Regions from separate parts of the Homo sapiens genome. Here all the other regions are linked to region 1. Evidence: promoter capture Hi-C in 16 types of primary human blood cells and fetal thymus (Javierre and others, 2016). All regions are on one chromosome and are shown on one strand. The core of a region is centred on a gene start or on the middle of the fragment in contact, and the rest is flanking DNA. Distances in the headings are between cores, read along the strand shown. Region 1 holds the start of HNRNPDL (heterogeneous nuclear ribonucleoprotein D like). Region 2 holds the start of MRPL1 (mitochondrial ribosomal protein L1). Region 3 overlaps CNOT6L (CCR4-NOT transcription complex subunit 6 like).

Region 1 (2,700 bases), core at 198-2,697:
TCACAGATAATTTTTTTTAAAAATGGAAACTAAAATAGAATTTAAAACCCAAGCTGCTCAGTTTCTTGGAAGATGGATTTTTCCTACTTGGTAATATACTTTGTATATCTCGACTATTATTGTGCATGCAAGCACCTCTAAGAAGTACTTGTATCTGCAATGAATTCTTAAACCTCAGGGAGCCAAATAAAAAGACAAGGCCCGAGGAATTCTTTCAAAAATTAAAGTAACATTTCATATTTGCTTATTCTAACAGACAAAGAATAAAGAAGGAATCCGCTAAGTTGCAAGCTGAGGTGCAGACAAGTGCTGGTTCACAGTGACATCCTAGAAGGAATGCTCTGGATAAGAGCTTCAAGCTTCTGTGGTTTTCTGAGGAAAGTGAACGGAATCTAGACGTGTCCTATAGCTCAAAAAATCAGCGCTATGGACCACAGCGCCTAACAGAGTAAAATAATACACTGTGCAGTTTGGCCACTAACAGCAAGAGTGGGAAGGGGCGAAGAGGAACCTTGATTGCCCGACACCAGGGCCACCTGAAAAGTCATCTTGACACTTCAGTCTTTCCATTTTGAGATCGGAAGCTTTAAGGACCATTAAATCGCTGCCGCTGCCACACCAGGCCCGACGGAGCAGAAAGGCTGCGCTCACCTGCGGAAGCGACCGGGTGCACACCTGCCGGGTGGCGAGGCCCGCACCGTCACACCCCGCCCCGGCTTACCTGCCCTTCGGTGATTTTTAGCGTCAACTTCCATCCCTTCCCACCCATCTGGATCCAACCAAGCGCAAGGGCGGGGGAGGGAGAAGCTAGTGTCGCGAGGAAAAGCATCCCCGCAACCCACCGCAGGCTTTCTCTCCTTCCTCCCCATTCCACACAAGAGGCAGCCACACCGCCTCTCCTAACCCTCGTCTCCAATGCAAGGCCTGAAATACTTAGAAAAAATAATAACTGTTTTTAAGGAAAAGTAACATCCCCGCTCCCTTCCGCCCCTCACCTTCACGAAAGCAATCGGGGTTGTGGTACCTTCGATATCTAACAGGATCACGGTGACTTCGGCGGGGACCGAAAGCACGACCATTTCCCTACCGGATGCTACGGGACTCGGCCTGCTGTTGGGGAGGGCGGAGGGCGGCGCCGGCTGCGGCTGCGGCCCCCGGTACCGTCTTGGGCTTCCGGCGGCCCCGCGCGATCTCGGAGCCAGCGACCAAGTGCAGCCCGCCGCGCGTGGGGAGAGGACACTTCTGCACACCTGGAACTGGAAAAGGCGGCCGCCCAGGAGCCCTGAACTCGTGAGCAGGACGGGGCAGGAGCCCGAGACCACGTGGGCAGGAAAAGGGGCGGCCCTTGACGGGTTCGGCGGGGCGGGGAGGGTGAAGGCGCCAGCGCCGATTGGCCGCCGTCAGGCCTCGAACTGGATCCGTCAAAATGGGCCTCGCGTGGGCGGGAACAAAGAAGCGAACGCGGGAGCAGGGTGCGCGAGAGCGCGCCCTCCGCAGACAGGTTGAGCGAGCGGGAGAGGCCCGGGGCACGTGCAGAAAGGAGCCCCGCGAGTGGCGCGCCGGGGATGTGAGTGCCCCTTGCCCTCTACTGAATCCAGCCCCCTCCCCGCCCACCGCCTCCGCCTTTGCATAGATACAGTCATCTGGCCAGCCCCCGCCCCTCCTCCCGGCGTCAGCCCGCCAGAGGCCGCGCGGGGCCCGGGCTTCGGCCGATCAGCCCGGGAGGCCCCGCCGCGCCCCCTTGGCCCGCGCGCCCGTGGTCACAGTGGAAGAGGCGCCCGCGCTGCGCTGCCCGGAGGAGCCGTCGCGCGCCCGCTTCCTGTTCGGCTGGTTCCTGCCAGCTCGAGGACAAAACACGCGTGCGCGCGGCGGGCGAGCGCGCTCGCCGCCTCAGTCGCCAGCGCCGGGCGCAGTCCGCCTTTTTCCGGAGCAGACTGGCCGCGGTGCTAGTCGGTAGCAGCGGCCGCCGCAGCGGCTCCGCACTGGCGAACCGAGGGCAGAAAAAGGCGGGGTTGACGGCTTTTTGGTAGGAGTGGGCTGGACCGGACGCCAGAGACAAAGGCTCCCAAGGCAAGAGGGACTGTGGCCCTGCGTCGGCTCTGCTCGGGACTGCTGACCCCAGGAATTTACGCCCCTTCGTTTTTCTCTTCTGATTCTTCTCTTCTCCCAAGCCCGCGTCCCCTCACGCGTGGCCTCTCTCCTTGCCGGGAGGGCCGCGATGGAGGTCCCGCCCAGGCTTTCCCATGTGCCGCCGCCATTGTTCCCCTCCGCTCCCGCTACTTTAGCCTCCCGCAGCCTCTCCCATTGGCGGCCGCGGCCGCCGCGGCAGCTAGCCCCGCTCCTCCCTTCGCTCGCTCCCAGCTCCGCCCGGCAGGGGGCGCGCCGGGCCCAGCGCCACGTCACCGCCCAGCAGCCCTCCCGATTGGCGGGCGGGGCGGCTATAAAGGGAGGGCGCAGGCGGCGCCCGGATCTCTTCCGCCGCCATTTTAAATCCAGCTCCATACAACGCTCCGCCGCCGCTGCTGCCGCGACCCGGACTGCGCGCCAGCACCCCCCTGCCGACAGCTCCGTCACTATGGAGGATATGAACGAGTACAGCAATATAGAGGAATTCGCAGAGGGATCCAAGATCAACGCGAGCAAGAATCAGCAGGATGACGGGTACCGCACGCTTCTTCCCCCGCTCCCCCTCCCCCAGCG
Region 2 (2,700 bases), core at 26-2,525, 4.6 Mb after region 1:
CTTATCAGAACTCACCTCACTTATCACACTCCACTACCCGCAGCCCACACCCCAGTATCAGAGACGACCCAGTCCTTGCCATGCCCATAGGTGGCTGGAGGGCGCTCGATGTACGTCCCGCTCCCACTCCCTCCCTCAGGGTGGACGTCTCCAGAATGGAGTGAAACCCTTCATAAGGTCACTTTTAAGTAGTAATGACCCACCCTCTGAAAAACCTAGAGACCAGAAACAGCACGAGGCATTTTCAGCACCCAGAGCAGAATCCGCCTTGCACTCTGCTGCAACCAGAGACTCGGTGCCAGAGCCATTTCCCCTGCAAGACAACCCCTCGCCTTACCTCTACCCATGCACCTTACGGCCGCCGCCATGTTGGGCACTCCGGATTGCGTTCACGAAATTGTTCCTACGTTTCTACTGGGAAGAATTAAAAAAAGGTTCCGTTCTAGAATCCGCAAAGAGGGAAGGAGTTAAAAAGAGAAAGAGGAACGGGGCGGGGACCAAAATGAGCTTTGCTGCCGGCGTGGCGGTGTTACTGTTAGTCCTCCGTGTTGCCCAGGACCCTGTGTGTTTCGTGGTTCCGGTATGGCTGGTTAACCACCTTCGGGAAAATACGATCCTGTTGGCGATGCTGTGATTATTTTAATCCTTCCTTCTTATTCTTTTTCTTTTTTGATCCTGCAAGTGTACTCAGAGCGACAATTTTAACAGGCTGTGAGAGTACTTAATACCCAACGTAAAATCTTGAAAAACAGGAACCCTGAAACCCACTAGCTTCCTCCGCCACTTTTCCGGCCTTGGAAAGACTTATTTTAAAAATTCTCTAGGCGTTTTCGCCGCTACCCGAGGGAGGTGTCCAACTCACTGACAAACTTTTTTTGCTAATTGTCAAACTTTCTGTCAGCGCAAGATCAACCTTAGCTTTAAAATCTTAAATTAATCTCTACATTTACCCCCTGCTGGCAAGCGAGTAGACTTACCATTAGGATCAATTGAATAATAATACTTGACATTTATAAAACATTTCTAGTTTTAAAATGGCAGCTCCAAGACCCACGCACAAGTTATTCTGATAGGAAAAAAAAACAAAAACAAAACAGAATGAGTGTACTTTCCATTACGTCACAGCTGTCGGTGTGGTTTATCTAAAACAAATCTGATTACGGATTTTATCACTTCCCAGCTTACCTCCCCCACAACACACACACACACACACACACACACACACACACACACACGTTTCTCACCTCCATAACTTGGTTCATTCTATCTTCTCTGCTTCGTGTGTACCGTACCCTACATCACCTAGGTAACTTTTTAAAGATTTCGCCTCAGGCTGTGTTTCTTTTAAACAGTTTTGAGATATAATTTACATAGCATACAATCTACCAATTTAAATTGTACAATTAAATGGTTTTTAGTGTACTCAAAGAGTTGTGCAGCCATCACCACAATATATCAGTTCTTGTCACCAGTCTGAGCTTTTTATGGGTAGAAACCATCTTACTCATTTTTGTAACCTCAGCACATACTTCAGTGCCAGGCCCATAGGAGGCTCTCAGTAAATGTTTGCTGAATAAATGAATATATGCATACATGAATTAGTGACTCAATTAGAATGGCAAGCCTGCAAAATTAACTTGCTTCAATGAAGCTGCCCACAGGCAGATGAACTGGATCAAAGGCATTTCCCAGATGCTTTATTCATATTTATACATAGTACTCATCTACATGAAAAAATAAGATTTCTAATGTATTGCCTTGTCTTGTTAACACCTAAGCAGTTACTTCAAAGATTCTATAACAATTTGTGACTTATGCAAAAAAATCGAAGAACTTAAATCTATCTTTGTAAACTTTTCCTTCTCTCCCTCGCTCCCTCTCATCCTCCCTTCTTTTCACAAATATATGAGTGCCTGCCATGTGTCAAGCAGTGTACTTGGCTATGCATAAATGAAAAAAACTAATTCAATTTGAGAGTAAGTACCAGAATTGGAGCAAGTTTACCCAGTCAATTTCAGAGAAAAACAAACACTCAGATTAGAGGTGCTGGTCCTTAGACCCTATATCTGTTTCCTTTCCACAGTCCACAGCTGGGGTCAGTTGGCCCCCATCTGTGGACTTTTTTTTCCCCCTCTCAAGACAGGATCTCACTCTGACACCCAAGCTGGAGTGCAGTGACAAGATCATAGCTCATTGCAGCCTTCACCTGCTGGGCTCAAGTGATCCTCATGTCTCAGCCTCCCAAGGGGCTGGGACTACAGGCACACACCACCACACCTGGCTAACTTATTTTTATTTTTCTTTATAGACAGCGGGGAGTGTGGGGTGTCTTTCTTTTTTGCCCAGGCTGGTCTCAAACTCCTGGCTTCAAGCAATCCCAAAGTGCTGGGATTACAGGTGTGAACCAACACGGCAGGCCCCATTTATGGACTTTTTTATGTCTACTGTTCTAACAAGAGAGTTTAAACATCCTATATTGAAACTATTACCATATAGTATGCTTACATACCATATAGTATGCTTATAGTGGTAGCCTAATTAAAGTAATGTCCTGTACAGGTACAGCTTACCTGTTGCCCACTCTGGTCACCAGAACTCGATGGCATTAGGTAGGATCCAGATTCCAGTTTTGTATATAACAATACATAAAGAGATTCCTTAGCCTGAGACTTTATTTTTATTTTTTTGAGACGAAGTCTC
Region 3 (2,700 bases), core at 193-2,692, 4.6 Mb after region 1:
GAACATTCATGTACAAGTTCTTATGTATGTATGTTTTGAATTCTTTTGGGTGTGTACCTAAGAGTGGAATTGCTGGAACATATACCACTTTGTGTTTAAACTTTTGAGGAACTTCTAGACTGCTTTCCAAAGCAGTCGCAGTATTTTACATTTCCATCAGCAGTGTATGAGAGCTCTAATTTATCCACTTCATGCCAACAATTGTTATTATCTCCTTTTTTCATCATAGTTCTTCTAGCAGGTGTGATTTGATCCTGGTTTTGATTTGCATTTCCCTGATGGCTAATGATGCTTTTTATGTGCTGTTGGACATTTGTATATCCTCTTTGGAGAGAAGTGTGTGAAAAGACTCAAATTCTTTGCCCATTTTTATAATGAGTTTTTTAATTATTGAGTTGTAAGAGTCTTTTTTATACTCTAGATGTGTCCCTTATATATGATTTGCAAATATTTTCCTCCATTTTGTGAGTTGTCTTTTCATTTTCCTGATGGTGTCATTTGAGGCACAAACGTTTTTAGCTTGATGAAGTGAAATTCTTGTTATTATTTTTGCTGTGCTTTTGGTGTCGTATCTAAGAAATAATGACTTCTTGTTTCTAATCTAGCTAATCTATCTAATATATCTATTTCTAATCTATATCTAATCTATTTCTAATCTATCTAATATATCTAATCTAAGGCCACAGATATTTACTTCCCTGTTTTGTCCTGAGAGTTTTATAGCCTTAACTCTTACATTTAGATCTTTGATCCATTTTGAATTAATTTCTGTACATGGTCTGTTGTAGAAGTCTAATATCTCTTTGCCTGTGGGTACTTAGTTGCCCCAGTACCATTTATTGAAAAGACTGTTCTTTCTCCATTGAATTGTATCATCACCCCTGTCCAAAATTAATTAACTGTAAGTGTGGAGGATTTATTTCTGGACTTTTAATTCTATTTCATTGATTTATATGTTTATCCTTATACTAGTATGGTCTTGACTACTGTAGCTTTGTAATTGAGAGGTCTGAGTCCTCAAACCTCTCAAAGTTTTTCCTTTTGAGAAGAAAAAATGAAAAACTCTTTTTTTCTTTTTCAAGATTGTTTTGGCTATTTGAATCTCTTGTGTTTCCATATCAATTTTAGGATCAGCTTGTCAGTTTCTGCAAAGAAGTCAGCTGGAATTTTGATGGGGATTGTGTTAAATCTGTACATCAATTTTGGGACCATTGCCATCTGAATATTAGGGCTTCCTGTCCATGAACATGGGATGTTTTTCTATTTATTTAGATCGTCTTTAAGTGTCAACAGTGTTTCATAGTTTTCAGAATATAAGTTTCATACTTCTGTTGCTGCATTTCTTCCCAAGTATTTTATTCTTCCAGATGATATTGTAAATGGAATTAAAAAAAATTTGGGGGGTTTTTGCATGACAAGTGCATAAAAATACACTTGATTTATGTTTGTTGATCTCGTATCCTCCAACCTTGCTGAATTTCTTAGTTCTAATAGTTTTTTTTTTCTTTTTTTTTTGAGATGGAGTCTCACTCTGTCGCCCAGGCTGGAGTGCAATGGCACTGTCTTGGCTCACTACAACCTCTGCCTCCTGGGTTCAAGTGATTCTCCAGCCTCAGCTTCCTGAGCAGCTGGGATTACAGGTGCCTGCCACCATGCCTGGCTAATTTCTGTATTTTTAGTAGAGATGGGGTTTCACTGTGTTGGCCAGGCTGGTCTTGCCGACCTCGTGATCCACCTGCCTCAGCCTCCCAAAGTGCAGGGATTACAGGTGTGAGTCACTGCACCCGGCCAGTTCTAATAGTTTTTAAGTGGATTCCATAAGATTTTCTACATACAAATATCATGTCACCTGCAAACAAATGAAGTTTCAATTCTGCTTTTCCAATATGGATGCATTTTAGTTCCTTTTCTTGCTTAATTGCCCTGGATAGAACCTCCAGAACATTACTGAAAAGAAATGTCAAGAGAAGTCACTTGAGTTGCAGCAATCCTTGTCTTGTTCCCAGTCTTAGGGGGAAAACATTCCATCTTCTGCCATTAAGTAGATGTTAGCTGTGATTTTTTTTTTTTTTTTTTTTAAACTGCTCCTTGCGGAGAAAGGCTAGCCCATAGGCAGGCAGTGTGCGGAAAGTAGTGAGCTATAAGTTTTTCATTAATAGCCTTTATCAGGTTGAGGAAGTTCATTTCCTAGATTGTTGAGTGTTTGTTTGTGTGAGTGTGTGTGTTTGTGAGAGAGTGTTAGGATTGAGTTTTGAGAGAATTGTGAAATGTGGATTAGAAAAATAAAGATGCTATGTCAGGTAATAAGGGGCAGATAATAATGCTTATCTTGCTGGAGGAAGAGGGGCTAGATTTTCCTCTTTTTCCCTCTCCCTTTCTTCCCCATTCCTTTCTTGTTTTTGTTTTGAGACGGAGTCTTGCTCTATCGCCCAGTCTGGAGTGCAGTGGCCTGATCTCAGCTCACTGCAACCTCCGCCTCCCAGGTTCAAGTGATTCTCCTGCCTCAGCCTCTTGAGAAGCTGGGACTACAGGCTAATTTTTGTACTTTTAGTAGAGACGGGATTTTGTACTTTTAGTAGAGATCACTATGTTGGCCAGGCTGGTCTCGAACTCCTGACCTTGTGATCTGCCCGCCTCAGCTGCCCAAAGTGCTGGGATTACAGGTGTGAGCCACCGCGCCCGACCCTTTCTTGATCTTTA

Evidence for each region. The method cuts DNA at HindIII sites, captures the fragments that hold promoters and counts their contacts. A CHiCAGO score of 5 or more calls a contact.
Region 2: a fragment that was not itself captured here is called in contact with the fragment with the promoter of HNRNPDL in region 1 in 2 of 17 cell types (fetal thymus and naive CD8 T cells); the score reaches 8.2 in fetal thymus.
Region 3: a fragment that was not itself captured here is called in contact with the fragment with the promoter of HNRNPDL in region 1 in 1 of 17 cell types (activated CD4 T cells); the score reaches 6.9 in activated CD4 T cells.

Annotation. Positions count from the first base shown.
Region 1 is chr4:82,429,209-82,431,908 of GRCh38, reverse strand. HNRNPDL (heterogeneous nuclear ribonucleoprotein D like) reads left to right here and starts at 1,447. Exons shown (of 8, transcript NM_031372.4): 1 at 1,447-2,661. The coding sequence starts at 2,219. ENOPH1 (enolase-phosphatase 1) reads right to left here and starts at 1,319. Exons shown (of 6, transcript NM_021204.5): 1 at 996-1,319. The coding sequence starts at 1,079. RefSeq lists enhancers at 729-828, 1,192-1,987, 2,139-2,228, 2,549-2,608, 1,988-2,700 and silencers at 1,069-1,388, 1,509-1,908, 2,279-2,518. The HindIII fragment of the contact is 3,206 bases long and covers 587-2,700 here.
Region 2 is chr4:77,860,517-77,863,216 of GRCh38, reverse strand. It overlaps MRPL1 (mitochondrial ribosomal protein L1), which reads right to left and starts at 387. Exons shown (of 9, transcript NM_020236.4): 1 at 338-387. The coding sequence starts at 368. RefSeq lists an enhancer at 300-699 and a silencer at 2,184-2,399. The HindIII fragment of the contact is 4,015 bases long and covers 1-2,700 here.
Region 3 is chr4:77,811,253-77,813,952 of GRCh38, reverse strand. All of the region lies in intron 1 of CNOT6L (CCR4-NOT transcription complex subunit 6 like), which reads left to right. Among named protein-coding and RNA genes, the nearest start is that of CNOT6L, 6.8 kb to the left of the region's middle. The HindIII fragment of the contact is 6,201 bases long and covers 1-2,700 here.